7 separate regions of the Homo sapiens genome follow, and all the other regions are linked to region 5. The links are contacts of gene promoters, found by promoter capture Hi-C in blood cells and fetal thymus (Javierre and others, 2016). All regions are on one chromosome and are shown on one strand. The core of a region is centred on a gene start or on the middle of the fragment in contact, and the rest is flanking DNA. Distances in the headings are between cores, read along the strand shown. Region 1 holds the start of DDN (dendrin). Region 2 has its middle 1.6 kb from the start of FAM186B. Region 3 holds the start of FMNL3 (formin like 3). Region 4 overlaps TMBIM6 (transmembrane BAX inhibitor motif containing 6). Region 5 holds the start of TROAP (trophinin associated protein). Region 6 overlaps PRPF40B (pre-mRNA processing factor 40B). Region 7 overlaps KMT2D (lysine methyltransferase 2D).

The links. Contacts are between HindIII fragments. The CHiCAGO score rates a contact against its expected background, and 5 or more counts as called.
Region 1: a contact is called between the fragment with the promoter of DDN here and the fragment with the promoter of TROAP in region 5, in 1 of 17 cell types (neutrophils). The highest score is 5.1, in neutrophils.
Region 2: a contact is called between a fragment that was not itself captured here and the fragment with the promoter of TROAP in region 5, in 2 of 17 cell types (endothelial precursors and M0 macrophages). The highest score is 11.1, in endothelial precursors.
Region 3: a contact is called between the fragment with the promoter of FMNL3 here and the fragment with the promoter of TROAP in region 5, in 1 of 17 cell types (endothelial precursors). The highest score is 8.7, in endothelial precursors.
Region 4: a fragment that was not itself captured here is called in contact with the fragment with the promoter of TROAP in region 5 in 2 of 17 cell types (endothelial precursors and erythroblasts); the score reaches 6.4 in endothelial precursors.
Region 6: a contact is called between a fragment that was not itself captured here and the fragment with the promoter of TROAP in region 5, in 2 of 17 cell types (endothelial precursors and M0 macrophages). The highest score is 9.3, in endothelial precursors.
Region 7: a contact is called between a fragment that was not itself captured here and the fragment with the promoter of TROAP in region 5, in 1 of 17 cell types (neutrophils). The highest score is 7.2, in neutrophils.

The regions. Positions count from the first base shown.
Region 1 is chr12:48,998,039-49,001,097 of GRCh38, forward strand. It overlaps DDN (dendrin), which reads right to left and starts at 1,337. Exons shown (of 2, transcript NM_015086.2): 1 at 1,041-1,337; 2 at 1-628. The coding sequence starts at 1,249. It overlaps DDN-AS1 (DDN and PRKAG1 antisense RNA 1), which reads left to right and starts at 309. Exons shown (of 2, transcript NR_147179.1): 1 at 309-652. RefSeq lists enhancers at 1-38, 1,708-2,002 and silencers at 159-618, 1,268-1,562. The HindIII fragment of the contact is 4,772 bases long and covers 1-1,890 here.
Region 2 is chr12:49,605,778-49,608,658 of GRCh38, forward strand. It overlaps a transcript of FAM186B not described here. Among named protein-coding and RNA genes, the nearest start is that of FAM186B, 1.6 kb to the left of the region's middle. The HindIII fragment of the contact is 845 bases long and covers 864-1,708 here.
Region 3 is chr12:49,705,759-49,708,716 of GRCh38, forward strand. FMNL3 (formin like 3) reads right to left here and starts at 1,647. Exons shown (of 26, transcript NM_175736.5): 1 at 1,297-1,647. The coding sequence starts at 1,422. LOC124902929 (a long non-coding RNA gene) reads left to right here and starts at 1,968. Exons shown (of 3, transcript XR_007063299.1): 1 at 1,968-2,081. RefSeq lists a silencer at 1,291-2,060 and an enhancer at 2,081-2,230. The HindIII fragment of the contact is 3,771 bases long and covers 1-2,279 here.
Region 4 is chr12:49,743,016-49,745,992 of GRCh38, forward strand. The region is part of intron 1 of TMBIM6 (transmembrane BAX inhibitor motif containing 6); the gene reads left to right. Among named protein-coding and RNA genes, the nearest start is that of TMBIM6, 2.9 kb to the left of the region's middle. The HindIII fragment of the contact is 1,355 bases long and covers 743-2,097 here.
Region 5 is chr12:49,321,532-49,324,504 of GRCh38, forward strand. TROAP (trophinin associated protein) reads left to right here and starts at 1,724. Exons shown (of 15, transcript NM_005480.4): 1 at 1,724-1,818; 2 at 2,073-2,221; 3 at 2,314-2,506. The coding sequence starts at 2,078. TROAP-AS1 (TROAP and PRPH antisense RNA 1) reads right to left here. Exons shown (of 8, transcript NR_120449.1): 1 at 2,961-2,973; 2 at 2,616-2,808. RefSeq lists enhancers at 437-656, 1,798-1,947. The HindIII fragment of the contact is 3,639 bases long and covers 1,326-2,973 here.
Region 6 is chr12:49,626,908-49,629,761 of GRCh38, forward strand. All of the region lies in intron 1 of PRPF40B (pre-mRNA processing factor 40B), which reads left to right. Among named protein-coding and RNA genes, the nearest start is that of PRPF40B, 4.8 kb to the left of the region's middle. The HindIII fragment of the contact is 1,865 bases long and covers 525-2,389 here.
Region 7 is chr12:49,024,470-49,027,181 of GRCh38, forward strand. KMT2D (lysine methyltransferase 2D) reads right to left here. Exons shown (of 55, transcript NM_003482.4): 49 at 1,713-2,712; 50 at 341-477; 51 at 109-239. Among named protein-coding and RNA genes, the nearest start is that of PRKAG1, 7.0 kb to the left of the region's middle. The HindIII fragment of the contact is 8,267 bases long and covers 1-2,712 here.

The DNA.
Region 1 (3,059 bases), core at 87-2,586, 320 kb before region 5:
CCGGTAGATCCGAGGATCCAGCCTCTTCTTTGTGCGCCCTCCGTCTGTCCTGGCTGGAGTCGCAGCTGGGGCTGATGAAGTGGGCACCTGAGAGTTCCCGGGGCCTCTCTTAGTCCCCAAGGTCCTATGGGGGCCTTCGTAAGAAGGTGGAGCCACGTAGGGTGGCGGCCGGTCCCAGCGGCGTCGTGGGGCGGTCCCGGCAGAACCTCTCAGCAGCAGGTGAGCCTCGTAGCTTGGGGGCCCGGGCCGCCGACCTCCCCAGGGCCCCGCCCACGCCGACCCTGGGTCGCTCTGCGGCTGCGCGGATGGACGGGGCGCTCGCCCCACAGGCGCCAGGCGCTCCGGCCGCAAGGGAGCAGGGAGCCCTGCCAGCTGGGCCACCCGAGGGGCGTTGCGGGGCTCCGGGCGGGGTCGACCCGGGGGGCTCCGTCGGGCCCCACCAGCCTTGCGCCTTTTTCGCTCGGTCTCCTTGGCCTCCCGCTCCTGCGACGCCGCTTTCCTTTTCTCTTGCTCCCGAGCTCGGACCTCGGCCAGGGGCCCCGCCCGCCAGTTGGTCGCCTCCTGCAGCACCCTGGAGGCCCAGGGCCGGCGGGGCGGCGGCTGTGGGGATCCCGGGCGCGGCCCACACCTGGGACAATGAGCAGGAACCCAGGTGAGCAGTTTGTGGGGGAAGGGAGCCGAGGTCCGGGGAGCTGGGAGCACTGGAGACCACTTGGGGCAGCCATGTGAAGGGGTGTGTGTGAGTGTGTGCGCGTGTGCACGTGCGTATATGTTAGGACTGAAGTCGAAGCGGGACTCCTCGCCATCTCTCCATGCACACTTTAACAGCGTCTGCCCCATCTCACCTCCTGCCCTTTCTCACACCCACTTCTGTTCCCCCAAACAACGGGATGAGTCAGGCCCCAGCCCTCGGGAGCGGGCAGAGGTGGAAGGCGTGGGAAAGAGAAGGGGGACCAGCAGTGCTCGCTGGTGCCTGCGGGGAGGTCCGGACCCCACTCCCCGCCCCACCACTCTCTTCCCCTCACCCCTGCTTCACTCACGTGCGGTTCTGGAACCCGCGAGCCCAGTGGCTGGCCTGGAAGTCCATGGGCTGTCGAGAAGGGGCGCGGCGACTATAATGACAGGAAATAGTCTTCACTTCTATCACCAATAGCTTGGACTTCTGCACCCAGAGGCAGCTGCCAGACTCCTCATCCTGGAGCTCCCGGGGGCTGTCAGGCCCCTCGGAGAACAGTGGGCCATCCAGCATCCTGCCCCACCCCACCCCGGCCCCCCACCCTCCCACCCGCCCCAGGAGCCCCCTCCCAGCCCAGGGAGCCGGCGCCCACTGCAGAGCCGCGGGCCCGGGGACTGGGAACTATATATACCCGGGCACACGTGTGTGTGCCTGTCTCTGTGTGTGCGCGCGCATGTGACACCGCGCGGACTGCTCCGCGCTGCTACCTCCCCCATGTGCACGGCCGCCCCCTGGGGCCCGGGATTGGACGCCCCTTCCCACTGCTGTTGTCCCCCAAGCCTGATGGGATCGCACGAGTGGGCGGGGGAGGGACTTATGATTCTTGCCAAGCTGACAGTGCCCCCTCCCCCGCCCCTATTTCTTCAACCTTCCTGCCGTTTTAACCCTTTACTCTCCTGCTTGTCAGGTTGCCTGACCACCAGGGTTCTGCCCCTGGCTTCCTGCCTCAGATTTCAGTTTCCCCAACATAGAGTGATGAGATTGGAACTCAAGGTCTCTGCCTGCCACTCTGCTGGTTTCCATGGGGCTGGGGTGCAGGAGGGGCTGGCCCACGGCTGGGGGGCTATTTTTAGCGGCAGTGGCTGTTCGGGTGCAGAGATGAGATGAGTAACCAGCTCCCATGCGGTGGAGAGAGGAGGCGGTGGCTTTTACCAAGCTTTTGTGCGACTCTGAGGGAGAGCTGCCTTCCCTAAGCTCAAAAAGGGTGACCCCTACACCCGTATCTCCTTGTCAGCTCAGTGCTGCAGCCTAGGACTGCTGGTACAGCAGGACACAGGCGTCTGCCTTGGCCACCCAAGCTGCCCTACCAGTTCCATTCTACATGTTTGTCCTTGGGCAGCCAGGGAGCCCTCCCACAGCAGCAGGCTTTCACCTCCAATCCAGAAGCCAGGATTTGGGGGTTATATTGTTCTGTGCCCACACAGCCTGCCCAGCTTTATGGAGGACAGAGTAAGTGCTTATGCACTCTCACCCTTCCAGAGGGGGATGGAGGAGAAATGATGTGTTTGCTTGGCAAAACTAATCCCCTAGCAACTGAAATGATAAAAGTGGCCTTTATTTTTTTCAATGTAGAACTCCCCCTCACCACCACCACAATGCCTAGTTCACTCAGTCCCCACCTTAAGTGGTGCTCCAGATGCTCACCTTTTGGGCTGCCTCTGTCCTGGGGGGCTGTTGCTTATATCCACATGATCCCTCCTCCTAAGCTTATACCAGGTGTCCCCTGATTCACCATGGTAATGTTAGTGGCAGCACAGCCCACGCCAACCCTTCCATGCAGAGACTTAGCAACCATGCCTGGCAACCATGGCAGCAGCTTCAGTGGAGGGGAGCAGTGCAGAGAGAGGGGAGAGTGTGTGGGGCATGGTTCCTCGGGAAGAAGGGATAATTTGCCTCTCTGGAGAGGAATAGGTAAGAATAGAAGCTTGTGAGTCTCCCAAATTTCATCCCTTGTCTCTCCCTCAGCTTCATCCTCACACTGAGACGGATAGGTTGGGTTTTAGAGGGAAATGGGAGAAGCAAGAGTTCCCAATTAGTTTTCCACTAATGTACATGGAGCCCTTTGGGTCCAGACCCTTCCTTTTAAGGGGATGGGGAACAACCAGAAAGGTTGTGGGGCAGAGACTGACAGACTGAGAAACAACTCAACAAAACCAGGTCTCTGCTCCCTAACACAAACCTTTAGAGAGAACGCAAACATCCCGTCCCATCCACCCTACCCCCCTTGATTCCACACACCTGCCAGCTGCACTGATGACTTGACTCGAAGATGCTTCCTTCCACCCTAGGTCCCACTAGAGTCCTGAGGCTTTTTAAAGCCCTT
Region 2 (2,881 bases), core at 36-2,535, 280 kb after region 5:
GAGACGGAGTCTCCCTCTGTAGCCCAGGCTGGAGTGCAGTGGTGTGATCTCGGTCACTGCAACCTCCACTTCCTGGGTTCAAGTGATTCTCCTGGCTCAGCCTCCTGAGTAGCTGGGATTACAGGTGCGTGCCACCACGCCTGGCTAATTTATTTTTTGTATTTTTAGTAAAGACGGGGTTTCACTGTGTTAGCGAGGATGGTCTCGATCTCCTGACCTCGTGATCCACCCACCTTAGCCTCCCAAAGTGCTGGGATTACAGGTGTGAGCCACCGTGCCCGGCCTACTTGTTGCTTTTTAAAAATTACTAAATGTTATGCTCCCAAACAAAACATTAATGTCTACAAATAAGAAAAAGCAATTAGCAAAAGTTATTTTCCTGAATAAAATATTTTAAATTTGTAAAAATTAGAGCCAATCAATAACCAAATGGAAGCCAGGCTCAGTGGCTCACGCCTGTAATCCCAACAATTTGGGAGGCTGAGGTGGGAGGATCACTTGAGCCCAGGAGTTTGAGACCAGCCTGGGCAACATGGTGAGAGCCTAGCTCTACAAAAAAATTTAAAAAATAGCCAGGCATGGTGGCGCATGCCTGGGATCCCAACTACTTGAGAGGTTGAGATGGGAGGATCACTTGAGCCCAGGAGGTCAAGGCTGCAGTGAGCCATGTTCACGCCACTACACCCCAGCCTAGGTGATAGATACCCTGACACACACACACACACACACACACACACACACACACACACAAACATACAGAGGGAGGAACATCCCATAATGCTAAAGATGTCAATTAATAAGGAGAACATAATTCTAAATGTGTATATACCTAATAACATTGCTTCAAAATACATGAAGTAAAAAGCTTCCAGAACTGAAAGGAGGAATAGGTAAATCCAAAATTATAGTTGGAGATTCCAGCACTTCTCTTGCAGGAGTTGATAGAAGTAGCAAAAAATAAAAAGTATAGAGGTTTTGAAAAATACTATCAACCAACTTGACTCCATTGACAGTCATAGAACACTTCACCCAACAACAGGACACATATTATTCCCTACGCATATGGAACAATGATCATATAAACCATAATTTGGGCCATAAAACAAGTATCAATTACCCTAAGAAGTCTAAAATAATACAAAATATGTTCTCTGACCACTATGGTATTAAACTATAAATCAATAATTGAGAGATCTTTGGAAAATTCCCAAATATTTTACAAATTAAGCAACATACTTCCATATAACCCTGAGTCAAAAAAGAAATCACAGGGAAAGTTATGAAATACTTTGAACCGAGCAAAAATAGAAACATATCACAATTTTGAGGATGCTGCCAAATCAGTGCTTAGAGGAAAAAACTAGAAAAGGAAGAACAAAAAAACCCAAAATAAGCAGAAGGAAGGAAATAATAAGAATAAGAATAGAGACCAATAGAAAACAAACAAAAATAGAAGAAAATCAATGCAACTAAAATCTGATGTTTTGAAAAGATTAATGCAATTGATAAAACTCTAGCCATATTTACCAGGAAGAAAAGAGAGAAGACAAGCTAACAATATGAAGAATAAGAGACTACAGACTCTACAGTGGGAATAATATGAGAGAGCAATATGAAAAACCTTTATGCCAATAAAGTTGGTAAATTAGATGAAATGGGCAAATTCTTTAACATACGTAACCTATCGATGCTCACTAAAGAAAAAAAAAGCTTTGAATATCCGTAAATCTACTAAAGAAATTGGATTCATAATATAAAAAACCTTTCCCTCAAAGAAAACTCCAGCCCCAGATAGTTTAATTGGTGAGTTCTGCCAAACATTTAAGAAAAAAAAGATACGGTTCTATAAAAACTCTTTCAAAAAATTGAATAGTAAAGAACACTTCTCAAATCATTTTATGAGGTTAGCATTATTTTTATTTTATTTTTTAATTTTTTCTGAGACAGAGTCTTACTCTGTTGCCCAGGCCAGAGTGCAGTGGCGTGATCTCGGCTCACTGCAACCTCCACCTCCTGGGTTCAAGTGATTCTCCCACCTCAGCCTCCCTAGCAGCTGAGACTACAGGTGCGTGCCACCACGCGCAGCTAATTTTTGTATTTTTAGTAGAGATGGGGTTTCACCATGTTGGTCAGGCTGCTCTCAAACTCCTGACCCCAGGTGATCCACCCACCTTGGCCTCCCAAAGTGCTGGGATTACAGGCATCAGCCACCGCACCCAGCTGAGGTTAGCATTATCTTGGTACCAAAACCAGAAAAACATGACAAGAAAAGAAAAAAAAGTACTACAGACTAATATTGCTCACAAATATAGACATAAAAGAAAATGAATTGATTGGGAGGCTGAAACAAGAGGATTGCTTGACTGCAGGAGCTGAAGTCCAGCCTGGGCAACTTAGCAAGACTTCATACCTTAAAAAAAAAAAAAAAGTTGGCCGGGTGCGGTGGCTCATGCCTGTAATCCCAGCACTTTGGGAGCCTGAGGCGGGTGGATCACTTGAGGTCAGGAGTTCAAGATGAGCCTGGCCAACATGGTGAAACCTTGTCTCTACTAAAAACATAAAAATTAGCTGGGTGTGGTGGTGTGCACCTGTAATCCCAGCTACTCTGGAAGCTGAGGCAGGAGAATTGCTTGAACCCAGGAGTCCTGGGTTGCAGTGAGCTGAGATCATATCACTGTACTCCAGCCTGAGTGACAGAGCAAGACTCCGTCTCCAAAAAAAAAAAAAAAACCAAAAACCTTTTTTTTCCCCAAGATGGCAGATTTGGGGCTGTTAGTGTGCCTCAGTCACTTGGAAATTGCAAGGTAGTGCATAAAGATCAACTCTGTGGGCTTTAATTCAAGAAAGAAAATGGGAATCCAACAGAATCATGAAGAACACC
Region 3 (2,958 bases), core at 397-2,896, 380 kb after region 5:
AGAGCTGGCGGGCAGAGAGGTGCCAGCGACACCACTTCCCCTTGGAACACTGTGGACCCTCTTTGAGCCAGCTCTGGTGCCAGTGGGCTGATGTCAGATTCTCTACCATCGGAGAGGCCAAGATCTCTAGACAGCTCCACTGTTGCCAACAGATCTAATCTCCTTATTCCAAGGCAGATGAAATCCAATAAGGCTGCTAAGTCCACAACTTATCCCTCCTGATGGGCAGAGGCAAAGGCAGAGTCGGCCATACCAACAATAACGCCAGAATTATTACTGCTTCTTAGAAAACTCTTTGGGGAAGTGAGAACTATTTCCCCAAATTTCTCAAAGATTAACCCCGGTTTACCAATGTTTTCGCTCTGCAAAACTTCATTTTCAGCGCAAACATATTTTCTGGCTCCTTCCCGGTGATACCAGCTCAGAACCTCTCGCTTCATAGAGCCACTGACATCAATGTCCAATTCCCACACCAAAGAAGAATCCCAAAGTCAGCTCTAAAAACCCATTTATACAGACCGTTTGAAACCCACAGAAAGACTAAAAAGCACAGGCTAAACAACACAAACCAGTCACTATGGCTTAACGTGAAAAGGGGGGGAGGAGGCGGGATGGTTTGTGTATTGTTTCACTTGGAGAAATACCCCAGTGAAATGGTTTATCCACATGTTCAGCCTTTCAGGCAAATCCACTCTAACTTAGCAGGATGCCTGCAGGCCGTTCTGAAAATAAGCAGAATGGCATACTCTTTATTCCACCCCCTTCAGGAGCTGCCAGCCGCCTCCCCATCCCCCTCTCCCCCCAAACATCTGGTCTGGGCTGGGAGTGGGACCCACTCCCTGGGAAGCCTCCATGTTCGCAGGAGAGGCGGTGTCCCCACTCAGGGAAGCCTGCTGAGGAGCGAGCCGGCCGCGCTTCTGAATTCCCCCCACCCGCGAGAGGCTCCGGGCTGAGAATGCTAGGGACGGGGAGCCTGGCGAAGAAGCGGGGAAACGGGAAAAGGGCAGCAGAAGGGGGAGGAAGAAGGAGGGAGAAGCCTGGTTCCTAGGACGGTCCCGAACTGGGGACTTCTCCTAAGGGTCCAGCGGTGGAGGCGTCGGTCCCGAGATCCCCGACGGGGCTGTCCGGGCCGGCCAGCGGCTGCTCAGAGGTTCCTGGGAAGACACTGGAGGCCGGGATCCGTTCGGGACCCCGACTGAAAGGGTGGGCGGGACGGGGGCCCAGCACAAAGTCCCAGCCCGGGCGTCGGGACCTGAGGGGCGGTACGCGGGGGAAGGGGCTGGGCTCAGCTCTCACCAGCACCAGGGCGAACCTTTCCTCCAGCTCACAGGGCTCAGGCATCGGCATCTTGCCGGGCGGCAGCAACAACGGGACAGAGGGGGGCTCTCCCGGGACCCCCTCGGCGCTCTCCAGGTTGCCCATCGCGGCGGGGCCCCCTCAGGGGCCTCGGCCCCCCACCTCCACGCTCCGGAGCTTTCGGCTCCGCGGCTCCGACCAGGCTCCTCCCTCAGCGCCGGCTCCCCGAGTCCCGACTCCTCGGCCCCGTCGAGGGCGCCGGGGGTTCCCTGGAGTCCCGCTGGCGGGGGCGCGCGGCGAGGGCGGAGGCAGCGTAGCGGACAGCCGCACCGAAGCAAGGCGGACGGAGGCGGCCGGCTCTTGCTCACACCCGCCGCCTCGCCGCGCTCGGCGCGCCGCCCGGGCGCTGCCCCTCCCCGCCCCCCGCGCTCTTTCCCTTCCCCCGCCAACCTCGCTTCCTCCCACCCACACCCGGCCGAGACTCGGGCTTCCCCCGCGAGCGCCGACTGCAGCCCGCGCGACGCGCGCCCCATTCATGCAGGCCCCGCCTCCCGCCCAGAGGCCTCACAGGCGGCCCGGCCCGCCCCACCTGCGCCCGATTGACGGCCGCGTCTGCCAATCACAGCGCCTCCCGCCCTTGACGGCCTCGTGCCGGGCGCCGAGCGCTCCCTGGCGGCCTCAGCCGGCATCGAATCACCGCGGTTCCCAGAGGGCGTGAGGGGCTGGCGTGGACACACCGGGAATGGACCGTACCCTTTTTCAAAAGGAACTCATGATGTATACAAGTAAGTAAAATATTATACAAGGCATGGCGTACAAAACTAACTACAAGAGAAGTAGAAACAAGCAGGATACTCAGAAGAGGGAGAGAGATAGTACCTGTTAAGAGTCGGGGTGAGGGAGATCATAGTTGGACCAGGCATTGAGGGATGAGGAAGCCCTTACCCGACAGAGGCAGGGGAAAAAACGTTTGGGAGGAGAGAAGCTTAACCATCTGGCTGCGTGTGAAAATGGAGAGGCGGGAGAAGAACGCTGTTCTGGGCTCAGTCGGCGGCTGGGTCGTTGACATTTGCGGTGGAAATTTGTTGTCTAGCCGCCATCTTCTTCCAGTGAGAGCACCCCCTTTTCTTTTAGGAAACCACCTCTCCCCTCTTCTCAGTCTAAATGGAGCTGAATTTTATCCCCAGTTCCAAAGGACCGCATGACCCAGGCCCAGTCAGTCACAACATTTTCCTCCTCTACCCATGGACACTGTTTTAGGGATTGTCACTTGACCCAAGCCCAGACAATATGATATATCCAAGGCTTTCTCTGAAACAATCAGGAAAGAGGCACTCACTCTCTCTCCATTTAGGCTGCAAAATTATTAGAATGTAAACCTGCAGCCGCTGGTGGCCGTCTTATCATCACCTGTAACACATCAAGCCTGCTTGAGAATGAAGCCAGCGCAGAGGAGAGAAAAGCTATGAGACAGGACAAAATTCTAATGACATGCCAAGAACCTGGATCTAACCATGCCTGAAGTTATCACCTAGATTTTTAATTCATTTATTCAACAAATATTTATTTTAGAAAGTTTATTCTATGCCAGATACTATTCTGGGCATTGAAGGTACATCTGCGAACAAACAGGATATACATTGTGTCCTCTTGGAATTCACA
Region 4 (2,977 bases), core at 170-2,669, 420 kb after region 5:
TCACTGTCGCCCAGGCTAGAGTGCAGTGGCGCAGTCATGGCTCACTTGAACCTTGACCTCTCCTGGCTTAGGTGATCCACCCCAGCCTCCTGAGTAGCTAGGACCACAGGTGGACGTCACCAGCTCCAGCTAATTTTTGTATTTTTTGTGGAGATGGGGTATCACCATGTTGCCCAGGCTTACCAACTCCAGAACTCAAGCGATTTATTTATTTATTATTATTATTATGTTTTTTTTTTGAGACAGTCTCACTCCCTTACCCAAGCTGGAGTGCAGTGGTGCAATCTCGGCTCACTGCAACCTCCGCCTCCCTGGTGCATTCAATTCTCATGCCTCAGCCTCCTAAGCAGCTGAGATGACAGGCGCGCACCACCATGCCCAGCTAATTTTTGTATTTTTAGTAGAGACGGGCTTTTGCCAAGTTGTCCAGCCTGGTCTCGAACTCCACACCTCAAGCGATTCGCCCGCCTTGACCTCCCAAATTGCTAGGATTACAGGTGTAATCCTTTCCTAAAGAAAAAGAGTCATCTCTCCTGAAGAATAAGAAAAGGTAAAATTAATCTAGATACTTAGCATTTTCAAGTTATTTTCCCTGATTATAGATATAGTTCGCGCTCTTTATACAAATGCTGAAAATGCAGAAAAATGTCATAGGAATCAATGTATGTTTTGGGAGGGTTTTTTTGTTTTAAAGATTTGTTTTCACCTATGGCTGAAACTTTTGAAAGCTTATATAAATGAAAGCTTATTTTTCTACTGTAGGATGGAATAGTAAAAAGAGCACTAGACTATAGTGGTCAGAAGACCCCAAATCTGGTTCTGGCTCTGCTATTTAACTTTCTAATGTTGGTCAAATCAATACTAATGTTTGTTTTAGTACTTTACGTTGATTTCACACAGATTTTCTTATTGGCATTCAGTAGAGCAGGTATTGATCATCATCGTTATCTTACAGATGAGGAAGCTGAAATAACCTTAGGTAAAATGATTTTTCCTAGGTTATATAGTAGAAAGTGGCAGCACTTGTGACACCAAATCCTGTCCTCTTGCCACTATTACATTGCCTTTTTGAACTTAAAAAAGATGTATAAAATGGGCCTAATCTTTCCCTTTCCTTGTGGGTTGATGTGTGAGGATTGAAGGTGATACATATATAAAAGCACCTTAAAAGTTATAAATTTTATATAAATATAGTCAGGAGTATTAGTATAGAAGGTACTACTGCTGGCCTGACGAGTTTCATTTTATTTCGTAAACTGCCCAAGGGTATTAATTTTCTCTAGAGAAACCATTGAATATTCTGATGCTCTAACTTCTGATTTTTTTTCCTTTACTACTTTGACCTGGTTGTAGAATCTGGTAGAAATGTCTTCTACCACTCTGTTTTGTTCCCCCAGAGTTTCTAACCAAACTGCATGCAGCCCTTCGTAGTTTTTATACACATTTTGTTTTCCAAAGATGGTGTTCGAGACCAAGGAGAGAAAGGCTGTCTCCTTGACTTAAAGGTTACCTAAGTGACCCCTTGAGGTAGGTTCCACTCTGAGCCAGCTGGGGAATGTTGATTTGAGGTTACAGCACTCTTGATCTGATAATAGGGTCTAAATTTGCTCTAGAGACTTTGTAGTGCTTAAATCTTGGGGATAGCTGAGCTGAACCAGATGCAAGCTCTGCCCTCAGGGTGAGAAGTTTCTGCACAATTAACTGGAATCCAAAACACGTGAAAAAGGAGCTTCACCAGTGAGGGTGAAGTGGGTATGCTGTTTGTCTTAATTTATGTGTGCTCCCCATTTGGGCTAAATATGGTGTTATTAGGGAGGGATTACTGGTTTATACTGGAAGAAGATTATGTATTTAGGATTTTGGGGCCTTCTTAGGATTCAGTATCTGTCAAACGTTATAGAGAGGGAGATGAAGTAGTGTCAACGTTTGGTACAAAAAATAATTTACTGAAGGCAGTAGGCATTTCATCTCCAGTTACTGGTTTGGTTTTGAGGCAGCCCCCTGGAGGAGATGGATTCAGTATTAGCTAATCCAGGGATTTGGGTCCAAGTTAAGGGAGAGGCGGGGACATCTAGGGTGTCCACCTGGGAAGATCAAAGCTTGGTCCTAGTTGAATGAAACAATTCCTTGGATGGTTCCGAAACTGAACTGACCTACCTCCTGGGAGTGGCAGGGAAAGCATCAAGCTTTTGCGCATTTACTTCATCAAATCCTTTACCATATCAGATTATCACTTAGTGGCTATTAGGCTGTCTCAAAATGTCCATGGCCCTGTGGGACAAGAGAGATAGTATAAATGTGCTAGAAGAAAGGTATGCCATTTAAACAAAAGTACAGACGGGCCCCAATTTATGATGATTGGACTTAATGATTTTTTACTTTATAATGATGCAAAAGTGCTACCTGTTTGCTAGAAACTGTACTTCAGGCCAGGCATGGTGGCTCATGCCTGTAATCCCAGCACTTTGGGAGGCCGAGGTGGGCAGATCACTTGAGGTCAGGAGTTTGAGACCAGCCTGGCCAACATGGCAAAACCCTGTATCTACTTAAAATACAAAAATTAGCTGGGCATGGTGGCACACACCTGTAATCCCAGCTACTTGGGAGGCTGAGGCATGATAATCACTTGAACCCAGGAGGCAGAGGTTGCAGTGAGCTGAGATCGTGCCACTGCACTCCAGCCTGGGCAACAGAGCGAGACTCTGTCTCAAAAAAAAAAACCCAGCACATTTAGAATTTCCATCTTTTCCCAGACTAGGGATATCTGGTATGATATTTTCACATGAGATATTTAACACTTTATTATAAAGTAGGCTTTGCGTTAGATAGTTTTGCCCAACTTCAGACTAATGTAAGCGTTCTGGGCACATTTAAGGTAAGGTAGGCTAGGCTTAAGCTATAATGTTTGGTAGGTTATATGTAGTAAGTGCATAAATTACGATACTTTCAGTTTACAATGGGATTATTGGGATGTAAC
Region 5 (2,973 bases), core at 474-2,973:
CTCCCAACCTCAGGTGATCCCCCTGCCTTGGCCTCCCAGAGTGCTGGGATTACAGGCGTGAGCCACCGCGCACAGCCTGAAAGTAGATGAATTTTAAAGATGCATACAATTAGTAAAGATACCTTACGTATCTTTAAATTTTTTTTTATAGAAACAGGATCTTGCTACACTGTCTAGGCTGGTCTGGAACTCCTGGCCTCAAGCGATCCACCTGGGCCATCCAAAGTGCTGGGAAAGACGCCTGTAACCCCAGGCTAGACAACGTAGCCAGATCTTGTCTCTACAAAAAAACACAAAAATTAGCTGGTGGCAGGCACCTGTAGTCCCAGCTACTTGAGAGGCTGAGGTTCCCACCTCAGGAGGCCGAGGCTGCGGTGAGCTGAGATCGCACCACTGCACTCCAGCCTGGGCGACAGAGTGAGACCCTGTCCCAAAAATGCATAAATAGTAAAACTAGTGAGAGTGAATGAGAGATGGGATATGTAAAGGGAGTGGGAGGAGTTAAGGAGTAACTCCTCGGTTTCTGGCTTGTGTAAGAATAACTTCTGTGATTGGTGGGGAAAATCCACCAGAGTTCTGTTAAGTGTTGTTCATTTCCTGTCCCCCGTTAGGGGTTACCCCTTCCATCTTAAGCAGGATATTCTAGGATCTCTCAGTCTCACAGCCTTGCCCACCAATAACCAGCAGGTGAGCCCCCTCTCCCCAGACCTCTAGATCTGCAAAAGGCAACCTGGAGGCAAGGAAATCCCCAGCTGTGAGTAGCCATTCAATTCTGGTGCTGTGGTAACTGAGTTCAAAAACAATGAGTCTTGTTACCTACCCGTAAAATGAAAGACACCTCATCAGACACCTCACTGGATTGTGAGGCTCCAAGGAGCACACATATTGTTAGGCTCAGTTCGATTCCCTCCAGCCCTCTCCGCCCGTTTGAAGGCAGTTCCTTATCCCGGAGACAACGTACAGATGTTCTCTCTTTCCCTCTTTATTTTTTTTAAGACAGGGTCTCTGTTGCCCAGGCTGGAGTGCAGTGGCGCGACCACAGCTCACTACAGCCTCAACCTCCTGGGCTCAACACGATCCTCCTGCCTCAGCCTCCAGAGCGGCTGGGACTACAAGCGCGCACCACTGCACAGGGATTATTATTATTATTTTATTATTTTGTAGAGAAACGGGTGGGAGTGGTCTCGCTATGTTGCCCAGGCTGGTCTCAAACTCAGCTCAAGAGATCCTCCCGCCTCGGCGTCCCAAAGTGTTGGGATTACAGGCGCCTGCCACCGCGCCCGGACGCAGATATTTTCTATGGGCATCTGGAATGGCGTCCCCAAAGCTTGGCGCCGTGCTATGGTCAAGCCGGGTCGGGGGCTCGGGCCAGCCTTCAACACCGTTGGCAGCAATCGGAACGATCAACTGTACCCTCAGTACCGCGACCTCGCCCGGTCCTGCCAATGGCCGGCCCCTAGCCGGTCCTGAGGCCTCGCGAGAGCTCCCGTGGCTACGCCTTCCCCGGCCTCGGAACGGCCCCATCCTTCCTCTTTCCCCGCCTCCCAGCGGCGCTCCACTCTCGGATTGGCTGATTGATCCGAGTCAGTTTTTTTCCTCGCCAGAAAGCGGTTCGACAATTGGTCCTTCTTTTGGCCCCTCCTGCGATGCCCGCGGATTGGACGGCTGAGTCTGGCTACGCGGGCCTCCGCGGGAGCGCGACCGGGCCAATCAAGAGCTTGGCGTATTTTACAAACTGAGAAAGTAGCTCCAGCAGCACCCGAGAGGGTCAGGAGAAAAGCGGAGGAAGCTGGGTAGGCCCTGAGGGGCCTCGGTAAGGTAAGGCACGGGGGTCTTGAAGGGAACGAAGGCTGCTGGGTTCATAGGGAGGAGGGCAGTTTGGGGCCCGAGGGCGAAAGAGTAGGCTCGGGGTGTCTGGAGATAGCACCCATAAGAGCGGTCTTGCAGGCGCCGGGGGCTTGTGGGCGCGTGGATTAGGGCGGAGGTATCAGGGATGGCAGGACAGGTGCCCCGAGAACTGGTTGATCTTTGATCTTAGATTCTGCCTGCCTTCTTCCCCGTCTCAATTGTAGCCATCATGACCACCCGGCAAGCCACGAAGGATCCCCTCCTCCGGGGTGTATCTCCTACCCCTAGCAAGATTCCGGTACGCTCTCAGAAACGCACGCCTTTCCCCACTGTTACATCGTGCGCCGTGGACCAGGAGAACCAAGATCCAAGGGTAAGAGGGGCCTAATGGGGGAAGACAGTAGTCACACCAGTAATGCACCCCAACACTAAACCTCACCTTTTTGTCCCCGCTCCCTCCCCTAGAGATGGGTGCAGAAACCACCGCTCAATATTCAACGCCCCCTCGTTGATTCAGCAGGCCCCAGGCCGAAAGCCAGGCACCAGGCAGAGACATCACAAAGATTGGTGGGGATCAGTCAGCCTCGGAACCCCTTGGAAGAGCTCAGGCCTAGCCCTAGGGGTCAAAATGTGGGGCCTGGGCCCCCTGCCCAGACAGGTACCTGTTGGAGCCATGGTAACACGGCCTCCATGGCTGAGTAGGGGACTAGGAAGGGTAAAAGTGGGGTTTTGGGGTTTTGCACTCACTCCTGCTGTCTCCTACTTACTGTGATAGTCCTGGTCCCAGCTCCTGGAAAGCTCTTTGCTCTTAGAAGATCTCCCTTTCCTCCAGCAAAATGTCATCTCGCCAGGTGCCATGGCTTGTACCTGTAATCACAGCTACTCAGGAGGCTGAAGCAGGAGGATCACTGGAGGCCAGGAGTTGGAGACCAGCCTGGATGACAGAGGGAGATCCCATCTCTTTAAAAAATAAATAAATAAATAAATAATAAATATCACTTCTTCTGAAGCCTTTTCCAGTTCCCCATGTCACAATCAGTTGCTCTGTGTTCTCCTAATACTTTGCAGCACTTCTTTTATAACATGTATATACCTTGGCTTGAGTCTGTTACCTGTCTATAGTTT
Region 6 (2,854 bases), core at 207-2,706, 310 kb after region 5:
AAAAAGGGGGATACCTTGGGTGACTGCCAGAGTCTCCTCCAGTTCTGACATTCTATGTTCCCTGAATAACTACTAGACCTAACTTACCAGTGGCCCCCTACTGTTTTGTAGGACTTGCCAAGACCATTTAGTCATTCAGTTAACACATACTTATTAGCACCTAGTTTGTACCCATAGATGGTGGTAAGGAAAACACAATGGGAACTGGATATGAGGTGAGCAAAAACAGATGAAGTCCCTGCCCTTCAGTGTTTTCAGTCTAGTAGGGGCCACGGATATTATATTTCATTAATTCTGAGACTCATATTTGAACATTTGTCAAGTCAGGATGCATCTTCAAATTGACAGGATATTATAATTTAATTGGCAGCATTTGTTTTTTATTCATGCCAAATAGAAAAATAATATAATCAGGATTATACAAATAACTATAAAATTCTAATGGATAATTGCCGAAGGAGAAGGTACATGGTGTTGTACAAGTATATAAAAGCGGGCTCTGACTAGTTCAGGGAGTTGGGAAAAGCTTTCGTGAAGAAATGATTGGTAGATGTGAAGTGTAGTAGGCAAGGTGTGTGGGGTTGGCAGGGCCAACCCAGTTTTCTCAGGCAAAGGTGGATGCCTGAGGTGGGAGAGCTGAGAGAAGGTGAGTAGGGCTGGAACTGAGACCCAGGAGCTCAGCATGGGGGAGATTGGCAAGGTAGCTGGGTAGCAGACCCCCTCATAGTACTGGGTAGGGGGTTTACTATTTACCCTAAGAGCAGTGGGAAGCCATTGAAGAGTTTTAAGCAGGGGGCTAACAGTCTGAGGTGCACTTTGAAGAGCTTGTTATAGCTGCTGATTGGAGTGGATGTGGGGAAAACAGTTGGGAGGCCACTGCAATTAGATGAAAAAAGATGGTGGCTTGGGCAAGATGGGTGGTGGAAAAGGAAATGGAGAGAAATGGATAGATTCAAGAAATCTTGAGGAGGTAAAGTTAACAAGACTTGGTGATTTATTGGCAAGGAAGAGGGAGTTGTGGAGAGTGACTCATAGGTTTCCATTTGGACAATTGAATGGTGTGGTGCCAGTCTCTGAGACGCTTCTGAGGCTCCCCTGGAGCCTGGTAGGACCCAAAGATGTTAGAGAGGCTCCTGAGGCAGCTTGAGATGGGAAAGTGTGACACAGAAAATTGTATTTCCTCCACTATTGATTAGTTTCTGACTTCCCATGCTGAGGAAAGCGTCAGGGGCAAGAGCAAGTCTGAATACAGAACTAAAGCAGTTGAGCACTTAGAAAAGATGAGTCACATTGGAGAGGTTTAGCTCATACCCTTTTCTTCTTAGGACAAGATGAAGGACAGTTTGTTGTTGTTGTTGTTGTTTTGTCTTTTTGAGAGTGTCTCACTCTGTCACCCAGGCTGGAGTGCAGTGGTGCAGTCTCAGCTCAATGCAACCTCCGCCTCCCAGGTTCAAGCAGTTCTCGTGCCTCAGCCTCCCCAGTAGCTGAGACTACAGGCGTGTGCCACCACACCTGGCTAATTTTTGTATTTTTAGTAGAGGTTTCACCATGTTGGCCAAGCTGGTCTCGAACTCCTTACCTCAGGTGATCTGCCCGCTTGGCCTCCCAAAGTGCTGGGATTACAGGCGTGAACCACCGCACCAGGCCAGGAACAGTTTTTTTTTTTTTTTTTTGGAGACGAAATCTCGCTCTGTCGCCCAGGCTGGAGTTGGAGTGCAGTGGCGCCTCGGCTCACTGCAAACTCCGCCTCCTGGGTTCACCTCATTCTCCCACCTCTCCCGAGTAGCTGGGACTAAAGGTGCCTGCCACCACGCCTGGCTAATTTTGTTTTTGTATTTTTAGTAGAGACAGGATTTCACCGTGTTGGCCAGGATGGCCTCGATCTCCTGACCTCATGATCTGCCCTCCTTGGCCTCCCAAAGTGCTGGGATTACAGGTGTGAGCCACCGTGCCCAGCCAGGAACAGATATTTTAAAGGCAGACATGAAGGGCGTTTTTAAATGCTGAGCATTCTCAACATAGGGGAAATTGGCAGCAGTGAGGTACCTTCTCTTCAGCCAGATACCACCTTTCCCCGGGATTCCTCCCTATCACCCCCTAACTTTCAGGCAAAGAGGCAGAAGGGCTGGGCCCTTTAGCTGCATCTCCAAGCCTCGGTTCACTTACAGTGAGTTTGTTTGTTTTTGAATGGGCAATATAGTCATATGGCTGCGTATTCAAAAGATACAAAAGCCATACAGGGAAAAGTCTCCCCTTTATCTCTGTCCCTTTCTACCATTTCTTGTGTATCATCTTTTGTCTCTGACTTTTATACAAATGATAAAAGTTTGCTGCACCTTGCTTTCTTTCCCACTTGTTAATACATCTTAGAGATCATATCGAGACAATAAGCTTCTTCATTCTTGTTTATAACTGTATAGCACTGCATTTTATGTGTATATATAATTTCATAGCTCCTTACTGGTGGCTATTTAGGCTGATTCCAATCTTCTGTTTTTACAAATAATACTGAAATGAAAACCTTAAACATACAGCATTTTGGCCATGTAGGGCTATACCTATAAAATTAATTTTTAGAAGTAGAAGGTTCTATATAGAGATTTGTTCTGTTTGTTCTTCGTTCGTTCAATATTTGCTGAATACCTATTATGTGCCAGATGCTGGTAGGTACCAGGAATACAGCTTCCAACAAGTCAGATATGATCCCTGTCTTCATGGAATGTTATTACACTCTTGTTGGGGAAAACATATCCAGGCAAACATAATAATTACAAAATTATGTACATGAGGAAACTAAAAAGGGGATCAGATAGAGAAATAGGAAGGAGCTACTTTAAATACAGTCAGGAAGTTG
Region 7 (2,712 bases), core at 188-2,687, 300 kb before region 5:
TTTTCTCCACGGGAACTCTGATCTGTATCCTAAATCCTCATAATGGGACCAGAGGATCCCTGTCAACACCCACACCCACATCCCTTGGCTCCAGCATCACAAGCTCACCGTTTGTAGTGTGTGAGGATTTTAGGCTCTGATCGGGCACAGCCAGTGGGGTTGATCATGAGTGGCAGCTCCATAAGGGGGTGGCGCCCATAGCGGAATAAATAGTTTTGACAGCTCTCCACCCCGGGCAGCTGTGGGCACAGTTCATACTCACCTTAGCCTGAGTTTTTTTGGGGTTAGGCCAAAGTTCTCAGTGCCCGCCAAGCCCCCCAGCTCCCAGCCCCTTCCTTACTGATTCAGCTATGCGAAGCACGGCATGCACCGTCAGCCCAAAGAGCTCCTCGCCCTTCAGATACTCAGGGAAGAGTCGCAGCATGTCAGCCTCTTTTCTCATGGCAGCCACAGGCTCAATGATGCGATTCCACACGGCTAAGAAGCAGGGAAGAGAGCAGTCCTCAGAGGCAACTTCTGCTCACTGACCTCCAGTCCCTAACCCCAATCCAGAACTGCAGTTTTCTGAGGCCTTCAAGCCTCCCTATCATGAAGTTGTGTTGGTCTTCCAGATCCTCTCTTGGCCTCCTAGTCTCACTCTCTCTTAAGAAGCAGGAGGTTTCCAACCCCAAGGGGTCATCACAGAGCCTTGAGATACAAACCCAGGGCCCAGGAGACCCAGCATAGGCCATGGAAGGTCCCTAGTGAAAGAGCAGGCATGCTTTGGAGTTGGAAAGACTTGGGTTCAGGTTCTAGTACTGGTCATGAGACCTTGAGCCAAATACAGTCACGTGCAGCTTAACAACATTTCATTCAATGAGGAATCATATATACAACAGTGGTCTGGTAAGATTATAATACTGTACTGTATTTTTACTGTATCTTTTCTATGTCTAGATGCACATACTTACCGTATGTTACAACTGCCTACAGTATTCAGTACAGTTACATGCTGTACAGATTTGTAGCCTAGGAGCAATGGGGTATACCGCAGAGCCTAGGTGTGTAGTATGCTATGCCATCTAGGTTTGTGTAGTACACTCTATGAAGTTCACACAATGACAAAATCACCTAACAATGCATTTCTCAGAATGTATCCCTGTCATTTAGCAATGCACGACTGTACTGAAATCTGAGACTCAGTTTCTTTATGAACAAACTGGGCATAATCGTAGTATAATACTTACCTCATAGGGTTGTATGAACAAAATAAACTACACAAATCACTTAGCTTAGTTTGTGGCTCACAGTACACACTCAAAAAAAGGTACCTGCTCTTACTGTTATTTTATCATTAACACTAAAACTAAAATCAAAATAATTCTGATTTCGTCCAGGGAAAAACAACCCCAAGGAACTTGGTTAGGATTAGGTTGGGTGAGGCAGATGATAGTCTCAGAACTGTTTCCTTTTGTTCCACTGGGGATAGCAACAGAACTAGAATATGTGAGATTAGACCAGCAAAATATTTTCAACTACAAGGGAATTTAGGGTGACAAGAGAGGCTCAAACACTTTCACTGGGAGTTTTCAAGAGACCCCCTGCCTGCCTGAGGTGGGGGAAGGAGGATCATTCACATAGAAGCTACAGGTCCTCTTATAGACATTGTAACAGTGACCCTGGGAGAAACTTTTCCCATTCCATATTATCCATTTCAAGGGCCCACTGCTCACCCTGGGGAGAGGCGTCAGTGAAGACCAGGTCCTCCAGGCCCTGCTCGATGACTTTGATTACAAACTCCGGCCGCCCGTTGTTCTCACCAATAGAACAGCGATAGCAGCAGCGACGATTGTTGGTGCGGAGGCTCCAATAGATGCGCGTGGCCTCGTAGCCCACGGGATAGAGGGCAGTGGCACTATGAAAGTCAGCCATCTGGTGAGGCAGCAGCTGTCCGATGGCGTGGAACACAAGGCCCCCCACACGGAACATGTGCAGCCGTTCTCCCCGCTGAATGATGCTAGCGATTTGCTTCACCTCGTCCCGCTCAATGTAGACCCGCCGGAAGACAGCAAAAGAGCTCAGCTCTTGCTCACAGGGCCCCTTGATCTTATGCATTGGACACAGCATGGTCTTGTCCTTGAAGAACATGCACTTGGCACGGATGGCACAAGCAAAATGGTAGACATTGGGGCAACGCATGCGATTGCAGCTGCTGGTGGCACCAGTTCGCTGGCACAGGGAGCACTTGGTTAGCAGTCCTCGGTGCAGGGCAACCTCCACATTCATCAGTGCCCCGCCCTGGGTCTCATACACCTCCGTGGACCAAAGGGCACAGTTGAGGTGCACCCACAGGTCCAGGTCCAGGTTCAGCAGACGGGCAGGCCCATCAGTGGCCCCGTCACCCTCCTCATGACAGAAACAGCAGCGACGCATGTCTCGCGGTACCTTGTCAGGTCGCAAGGCTGTGCCAAGCTGCTCCATAAACTCTGCCACTTCCCGCTCATCCTCCTGCCGCCCACTGCCCTTCTGGATGGTCAGCAGCAGCCGAAGCCGCTTCCAGCGCACTCCTTTCCATTTCTTGAGGCGAGGAGGACGGGAATCTTCACCTTCTTCAGGGGGCCGGGCACGGGGCTTGGGTCGGGCTGATTCAGGGGATGAGGCCAGTGGCAGAGGTGAGGGGACGGGTGGCTCAGCCAAGGGTTCGGTGGGAAGTTCAACCAAGGGCTCAGTAGG